2 separate regions of the Homo sapiens genome follow, and region 2 is linked to region 1. The links are contacts of gene promoters, found by promoter capture Hi-C in blood cells and fetal thymus (Javierre and others, 2016). All regions are on one chromosome and are shown on one strand. The core of a region is centred on a gene start or on the middle of the fragment in contact, and the rest is flanking DNA. Distances in the headings are between cores, read along the strand shown. Region 1 holds the start of S100A10 (S100 calcium binding protein A10). Region 2 has its middle 45 kb from the start of CRNN.

What was found. The method cuts DNA at HindIII sites, captures the fragments that hold promoters and counts their contacts. A CHiCAGO score of 5 or more calls a contact.
Region 2: a contact is called between a fragment that was not itself captured here and the fragment with the promoter of S100A10 in region 1, in 3 of 17 cell types (naive CD4 T cells, naive CD8 T cells and non-activated CD4 T cells). The highest score is 7.1, in naive CD4 T cells.

What each region holds. Positions count from the first base shown.
Region 1 is chr1:151,991,866-151,996,254 of GRCh38, forward strand. S100A10 (S100 calcium binding protein A10) reads right to left here and starts at 1,994. Exons shown (of 3, transcript NM_002966.3): 1 at 1,887-1,994. RefSeq lists an enhancer at 34-1,233 and silencers at 1,802-2,101, 2,112-2,161, 2,292-2,421. The HindIII fragment of the contact is 5,740 bases long and covers 447-4,389 here.
Region 2 is chr1:152,456,576-152,460,964 of GRCh38, forward strand. No RefSeq gene overlaps it. Among named protein-coding and RNA genes, the nearest start is that of CRNN, 45 kb to the left of the region's middle. RefSeq lists enhancers at 1,943-2,012, 3,931-3,990. The HindIII fragment of the contact is 1,034 bases long and covers 1,953-2,986 here.

The DNA of each region.
Region 1 (4,389 bases), core at 744-3,243:
TTAGGAGGCTGGCCAGCACACGGGAGGAAAGGGGCCTATATGATGTGTCGGAGAAAAGCTAGGAAGAGCATCACCCAGAAAGCAGGGTAAGACCCAAAAATTGCTTCATGCCCAGTAGACCAAAAAAATTGTAAGAACCTAGATAAGAAACTCCAAATGGTGGATCAAGGGCCACAGTGAAGAAACTATCCTCTGGCTGTGAAGGAACAAATACACCATTTGGAAGGGATGATTAAAGAGAAACTGGATAGGAATCTGTGGGGGCAGGGCCGATGAAGAAACTTCCAATAAGTTATATGAACTCATTCCCACTCCAACCCCTGGCATTATCTTTTGCAATTTGCTGAAACATGTTGGAGGCAAAGATCACCGACTGGGTGTTTCCATGAGCCTGGCCTCACCTAAAACGCACAACATAAAACTCCATTCCTGGAGACTGAAACTCAAGCTTCTGGGGAAAAATATCCGCAACAACTGCAAACCTCTTAGCGGGAAAAGCTACCTCCCAAGTAAGGCTGAGGCAGGCTGCCAGGCGCATACTGGCCGATAACGAAAAGCGGTCTCGCCAAGGCCCTGCAGATCTAATTACTGCCCTCACCGGCAGTTCAGTCGAGAAACCTCTCCTGCAGACTGGCAGCCAGACCAGGTGTGACTCACTTCCTCTTGGAAAATGCCCTCTGAGATGGCACAGTTCTCCTTTTCCTTCAGGGAGTGTTCTGTCCAAACCATCCACCGAGAGTATCTGCAACCGGCCACACCCACATGGTCTCACAGCTGAGTCACAGGCCTCAGACCACTGGGAGAATCCTGGAGCCCTTTGTGCTAACCACGCCCTGCAGAAGCTCCCGCAGAGACGGAACTGGGTGGGGGCAGAAAACGGGGTGGGCTTAATGCATCCCAGAATCTGGCTTAGGGCTCCCCTGTGCTGGCCTGGCTTGGAGCGCTCTGCATTCCACCCCAGCCAACAAGGCAGAGCTCCTGGTTTCACTTAGGCAGAGCTGGACTGAGGCTGGACAGGCAGCAGTGTCCACGGCTAGGGGCAGCGCCATTCCTTCGGCCAAAGCACAGGTGGTGAACCAAGTACCAAAGGCACGTCTGTCTGTTTCACTGCACCGGGCCAAATTAATCTATGATTGGAAGATCCTTCATCAAGCCTGCTCTTCCTCCATCTCTTTCTGGTTCCACTTATTAAGACAGCAAGGGAACCCTTTCAGTAGAGAAACCACGTCACACAGGGCCCTCTCCCACAAACCCCAGCCAAACTGCTGTAGAAAGAAAACAAGTGGACCTCCCTCCCTCAGCAGGAAGACCCTTTCCGTCGAGCAGACAACAGGAAGCCCCGACCAGAAACGCCTGTTTGGCCGACGGACTAAGGGTTACGGAAGGGACGCCCCAGCTGCCTACTCGTCCTACCCGCGCCTACTTGGGCGGTACAGCCGGGAGCAGGCTACGAACATGCAGACCCGGCCTGCGAGCGGAACCCACCAAGAAACACGCCAGCCAGGGCAGGGGCGTGTAGGAGGGATTCGGTAACCCGAGAGACGAGTGGGAAAGTAGGAAAGGTGGGAGTAAAGCAACGCAAACATAAAGGGAGGAGGGAAGAGGTTCAGGCGCACCAATACCACGGTCCCCTCCTAAAGAACAAGTGCCCCCTCCTCTGGTCCGCGTGGGTCTGGGGGCGGCCGCGCCCGGGCCGGGGAGGGGCGCTGCTGGCCTCGTTTGGGTGTGGCCCGGAGCACTGAGCAGCGGATTCCCCACCAGCCGCTCCCCGCCCAGCCCCGCGGTGCTCCGGACGCCCCGCGAAGCCGGGTGCAGGGTTTTCCCCGGGCAGCAGGTCCGGGCCTGGGGACTACCCAGGAGGGGCGCGTGGGCCGGGCGGAGCTCACCTTGGCCGAGGCGCGGCGGACGCTGGGCGAGCTGGGCGAGCTGGACGCGGGGCGGAGAGGCGAGCGCGGCGGGCTGTGCGCCTTCCTTAGTACGTGCGGCGGGTGGGTAGAGGGAGGCGGCGCGGGAGCGGGAGGAGCCTGGCGGGCGCTCGGCAGGGCGCTCCCCCAGCCCTGTCTCCTCCCCCTCTTCCTGCCCCCGACTCCCCCGACCCCGGGCGCGCGGCCCACGCCCTGCCCTCGCTCCCGGACCCGCCTCGCAGAGGCCTCGCCCGCCCCAGACAGAGCGTTCTTGTAAACTTCTCTTCAGTAGAAACGGTCCTGCTCTCGAATATTTCAGGGCATCCCCACCCTGAGCCTGCCCTTCCTCTCGGGTTTGGTTTTAGAAAGTGTACAAATCAAAGAACCCGGCCGTCCTGCGGGTGGGGCACGCTGGCGCAGAACCAGAGGTAACCGGCTCTGCGGCCACCTACGGGTCTAGGAATTACTTGCTGGATGACCCTGCAGGGAGTGGCACGTGGAGTCCTATCGACCTCAGAGGCACTATCAGATTAGCCCTAGGAGGTCCGTCTGGGGGTCTCGGCGGCCTGCGCCAGTGGAGGGGCGGCACCTCCCCAGAAGCCGGGCTTCCCGCCCCACCGGCCCGCGAGGTGCCGCAGGGAGGGTGCGGTTTGGCTTGTCAGCACCCAGGGGCGTCACAAACCCTTTGTTGAACAGGGGATTTACCCCTTTGTGTGGCGTCACTTGATCAATAGTTCAGTTTCAGTGTGGCTAATAGTGTTAAAAACTGGCCGGGCGCGGTGGCTCACGCCTGTAATCCCAACACTTTGGGAGGCCGAGGCGGGCGGATCACCTCAGGTCAGGAGTTCAACACCAGCTTAGCCAACATGGTGAAACCTTGTCTCTACTGATACAAAAATTAGCCGGGAGTGGTGATGCGCGCCTGTAATCCCAGGAGACTGAGGCATGAGAATCGCTTGAACCTGGGAGACAGAGGTTGCAGTGAGCCGAGATCGCACCACTGCACTCCAGCCTGGGTGACAGAGTGAGACTCTGTCTCAAAAAAAAAAAAAAAAAAGAAAAAAGAAAAAAAGAAAAGAAAAAGGTTAAAAACTAAGTTTCCAAGGCAGTATGCTGTGGTCCTTGAAAAGTCCTTTAGAAGAATTTTCTGGAATAAATTTAGAGAAAACCTAAGTGTTTCCTAGGGGATGCTTACCAACTCCTCGCCCCTCCCCCGCCCGCCCTCTTTTATTTTAATTGTGACTCAGGGTTAAATACAAACTACTAGCAGCTGTTGGTGGAAAAGAGCCCAATCCCAAACTCTGGGGTTTTCCTTTGTTCCCAAGGGAGGCCTTGGGAGGAATGAATGATCCTAAAGGAATGAGCAGACCTGGGGAATCCTCCAAGTGCCACCTCTGACTAATATTGGCTGTTGCCAGGAAAACCCAACTTGGATTTCAGCTATTACTTTCCGTGCAACCCTGGTGCTGACTATTCAAGGGGACAGCTCTTCAAGATCTTCCTGTATACAGTACTTCCCAGTCCCCAGGTCACAGTCACCAGTGGAGGAAATCTCGGATCCCTTTTGTTGCAGGGATTGCAATGCGACTGGGTTTAGAATGGGAATGCCTGGGTTTGCGTACCCCTACTCATCTGATTTCTTCATCTGGTCCACAGACCTTAGGAGTGCTTTAGTGTATGTGGTAGGCCTGGGAATTCAGGGATTAGAGAATCAGTCTCTTTCTCTGAAGAGTTCCAAGTATTGGGCGTTAGATAAGCAAACAATTAAAATCCAGTGTGCTTAGTGAATGGTAGAGGATACTATTGGATACTAGGAGAACACTGAGGAGGGGCTTCCAAGTCCTCTTGGAGTGGTCACAGAATAATTTCTGCAGGAAGCAACATTGGGTAGAAATTTAAAAACAACAATAACACTTATTGTAACTTTTTAATCTGTACAAAGATTCCATTCTTAGAAGGCTTGGAAAATATATCAATGTATAAAAAATGATTTATAAATACATGAGCCAAAGATAAACATTTTCATATTTCTAGTCTTTTTATGCATATGTAACAAATATTTGCATAATTGTGATCATACTGATTATAAAATTAAGTACAGTCATTCACTGCATAACAGTGTTTGAGCCAACGATGGATCATGTATTCAGCAGTGGTTCCATAAGATTATAATAGAGCTAAAAAAATTCCAGTTGCCTAGTGACCTTGTAGCTGTCTAGCGCAATACTTTACTCATGTGTTTGTGGTGATGCTGGTGTAAACAAACTACTGTGCTGCCAGTTGTATAAAAATATAGCACATACCAATTATGTGTAGTATGCAATACTTGATAATGGTAATAAATGACTGTTACTGCATTATGTATTTACTACACTATACTTTTCATCATTATTTTAGAGTGTATTCCTTCTACTTATTAAAAAAACAGTAAAACTTAAAAAAAAGTTTAAAAAACAGCCTCAGGCAGGTCTTTCAGGGGGTATTC
Region 2 (4,389 bases), core at 1,220-3,719, 470 kb after region 1:
CCATGGTTGGTTGAATCCATGGATGTAGAAGTCAAGTATAAGGAAGGCCAACTATAGCTTGTCAGATTATGTAGTTGTTTCAGGTTACAGGATAAATCCATCCCTGTAACTCCATTCCCATTGGAAGAGGAAATTTCCACTTTATATTTTTGCTAGCATAATACCATTTTTTCTGGTATTTTTCAAAATCACAACCTAACATTGTAATTCTAAAGTATTTAGAGTTATACATCTGTTTAAAATTTCAAATTGGATGAACATGCAATCTCCCCACTAAGACAGGCATTTGCCTTTGTCTGGGTGAGGCTGACCATTGTCTTTTGTGTTTAGCAGTTCCTTATAATCCCTCCATAACCAGCCTGGGTCTCTCTCCACTTCCAGAAGCCTTGACAGACTGTTTTAGAACTGGAGAGATGAGGAGTGGGGGTGAGATGCTAAGAACACACAGGAGAGGGTATGGCAGGAAGGAGGACAAAAGGGCAGGAGTTCCTAGGGCCAAGTCCCACCACTCTTCACCCCCAGCCTGACCACCTCCCTCCCCTCCGGGGCACACATCTCTCTGCTCCTCTTTACAGAGCCTCTTTATTTAACATGTCATGTGGTTCTGGTATCACAGTCACTACTCTTGTTGTGTGGAAGGGCAGAATCTCAGGGGCCCAGGACAGAATAGAAGACTGTTGGTGAGGCAGGACTTAGTCCCTTAGGGAGTTACCAGGCCAGCCCTGCCCCATGCTGTGGCAATCACAGGAGTGTGTGATACAGAGTGCTTGGAGAATAGGACCAGACCACACTTGACAAAATGGTGCCTATGGGGGTGCAACAATAACATGGCATTTTAGGAAGAGGTGGACAGGACAATGAGTTGCTTTGGGGGCTTTGGTCTTGTACACCATGCCTAGGTTCTGAGAGGGCAACTGTACCTTGCAGAATGACTGCCATCTGCCAGGCACAGTGCTAGGCTTTTTACAACCATTACGCCAGTCATTCCTTATGTCAACCTTATGTGGTGTGCATTGTCCTTTTACATTTCACATCTGAAGACAATTAGACTCAAAGGGTTTCAGATAGTTACTCGATGGGACTGGCACTCCAGAGTCTGCGAGGGCAGAGAAGTTTGCTGGGAGACTGAGAGAGTGCTCATGGGATATTGTGGTATGGGAGGAGCTGGAGCCCTATGTTCTTGGCTGGACAAAGCCCTGTTGTGCTCATTTTGGAGATGGCAGGTGGGACCAATCCCATCACAGCAGCTGCCTCAGCAGGGAGATGCCCTGCAAGGGTGAGGTGTGGCCTAGGCAAGGTGTAGGAACTGGAAACTGAGGTAGGGCTGGAGGGGGGGAATATAACAAGAGTGAAAACAGTGCTTGAGGGCAAAAATGTGATGGGGAAAGTAAAAAAAAAGACCTGGAGTCTACACTGAAATTGAGTGGGGGTGAAGAAGTGAAATATTATTTTGGACCATATGAAATTGTTGTTTTGTAGGTAAAATGGTGGATTATGAACAATTTTATGTGTTCAACCTAATGTAAGCTTACTGTGGGTAAGCACCAAATATTAAGTATAGCCCATGGAATGCAGGGTGGTCTAAAGGTGAGTGGCACTGGATCTCAGCATTTGGAATGCCTACCTGTCCCCATATGTATCATCAGAAGGCACCTGTTAAAATATACACGTTACCTAGAAGTAGCAAATATTACCTAGCAACATCCTGGCACAACTGGCTTTATTAAACCAAGTTGTCACTTACTATGACAACAGCTATATAAAGTGACTGAAAAGAAAATTGGAATTTTGATTGAAAGATCATTTTGACTAGGTAGAGCCTGAGATAGGGGAGCTGCTTGGCAGACTGTGAGCAGCACTTGGCACAAGGTGGGGGGGTTTTGATAGAAGGCATTGAGAGAGAGGAAGCCGAGGTCTGGACCCAAAAGACTTGCTGACTGGCTGTGCCCATAAGCTTCCCTGCGCTGACTGCTGTCAGCCAACAATTAGGATTTCCGTGGTGCTCTGGCTCCCTCTTCAGGGAAACTCCTGAAATGCATCGCCATGTCTCAAGAAGATGGAGCTCCAGCGAAGTTTCAGAGATGGAAGACGGAACGGTAAGGGAACTAGTATTTCTCAAATTCACACTGTGTGTAGGCAGTCTGCTGAAAAGTGGCCACTAATATTGCCATGTATAGAAGTGTAAACTCAGATAATTTACGTGATTTGTCCAAGGTCATAACTCAATGGTGGTAGAGCTGGGATTCAACTTCAGGTTAGCCTGACTCCAAAAGACAAAGGTTGACCGTGGGCATCTCCAGGGAAGGGAGCAACTTCTATTGATTTTTGAATCCAGAGCAACTTCCATTGATTTCTGAAGCTCCAGAGTATAGTTGGGTGCAACAAATGTGAATCCCCAAAGACACAGGGCCCCGCTTAAGACCCCACACGTGGTTTTCCTCCCAGAGTCAAAACCCAGCAAGTTTGTGCCCCTCTAACAGCAGTATGAATCTTGGGCCCCAAGGCTGTGTCTGGGGCAGCCCTTCATCTCTAACTTCTGAGTATTCTTGGCAACCACCTGGAACACAGTTTTCCATGGTGCAGTGCTTCCTCCTCCACCTGCCCTTTCACATAAGGGATCGCCTTTGACCTTAACACCTGCTCTCTCTGTTTGACAGATGATATTTGATTTTTGAAGATGGAAGAGCATCTATCCATGCATCCATTCATTCATAAAACTGATAAGTATTTGTTGAGTGTCTACGATGTCCAGTCAGTGTTATTGACTCTAGAGATACAGCAGTAAACAGAATAGATAAAAGCTGGGATATGTGGGTGGGAGTAGTAGGCAGTAAACAATAACCCTAATAAATATGTAAATTATACAACATGTTAGAAGGCGGTAACCACTATAGAAATAGAGCTGAATAAGGAATGAGAGTGCAAGTGGCAAGGATAAAGGGTAAGTTGTAATTTAAATGGACTGGTCAGCTCTGCTTTATTAAGAAGCTTACTTTTGAAAGAAATATAGGGAGGGAGCCAAGCAGATATCTTGGGTAAGAAGATTCCAGGTAGAGGGAAAAGCCAATGCAAATGTCCTAAGGTGAAATCATTCCTGATCTACACAAGATACAGCAAAGAGGCCAGTGTGGCTGGAAGGGAGTGAGAGAGGAGAGTAATGGGGTTGAGCTACCTCTACTGACTGAGTATATATTATATGCTGGGCACCACTAGGCACTTAAACATGCTGATCATGTCAACTCCTCTGGGAGTGTGTTATGGACCAATTTAGAAGTTGAGAAATAGTGGTTTGGTGAGAGTGGGTAACTCACACATGGCCACAGAGCCAGCAAAGCAGATGTTCTGGCTCCAGAGCCCCGTTCTCTCCTCTGCACCCCATTGCCTTCATTCGGCCGAGTGGCCCTGCCTGCAGCAGCTGCCATGCTCTGAGCTGGCCTCCTGGTGTCAGTGAGCCCCAGCTCAGTGGCCGAGGAGGGCCCCAGGAGTCACAGGCTCTCACTGATCCCCACCACACCGAGGCTGCTTCCTTGTACCCCTGGTTTTAGGTCCAGCGTCCTCACCACTCTGAAATCAATTACTATTTTTACTTCTCTTTTTTTTTTTGGCATTAAGTAGACTTTTGGTTTTTAAATTATCTGAAAGTAAAAGCACAGAAGTGACATTCTTCTTGAAAGTGAAAGCAAGTGTGGAACATTTTTAACCATGCTGTTTCCTATCTGTTCTAGTTTCTGTAGGTAGTGGGTTCAGAGTAGCTCAGAGTATAAGGTGTGGGATGTGTGTGGGGGTGAGGGTTGGCCCAGGTGGACATCAGCATTTGACTCCTTCCTGGTTGCTGTAATTTGGGAGGGACTAACCAGGCTGCTAGATGTGCAGAAGGGTGGGCGCCACCTGCTGGTTGTGTGCATAAACCGCCTTTTCACCCAGTCAATCTTCATTCTTCTTTACTTGGAAATGGCAAATGAAGCCTTTCTATACGTGACTCTAGCAAATTAATTATTTCAGTCTTCCCGAAACACTTTATGTATATAATACCTCATGGTAGCATCATGCAAATGTCCCTTTGCCTTTGCTTGTGCTGGTATACCTTACGAAAAACAATCTGTACATCCAAGATGTCCCCCAACATCACCTACTTCAAAAATCACCTACTTCCAAGATCCATCCCTTACACTCTCCAAACTCCCCAGTCCTCAGAGACCCTAAGACACCTTGAACTACATCTAATCACCATGTGGCTAATGTGTTTGTCTTCTCCCAGAGGGGGACAGAGAATTAGCATTAAATTATGGCAGATCCCAGAAGATGTGCACAGGTCCTAGGACACAGCAAGGTGTTCAATAACTGTTGAAAGAAAGAATGCAGGCAACATATAACAATAAATAGGAAACA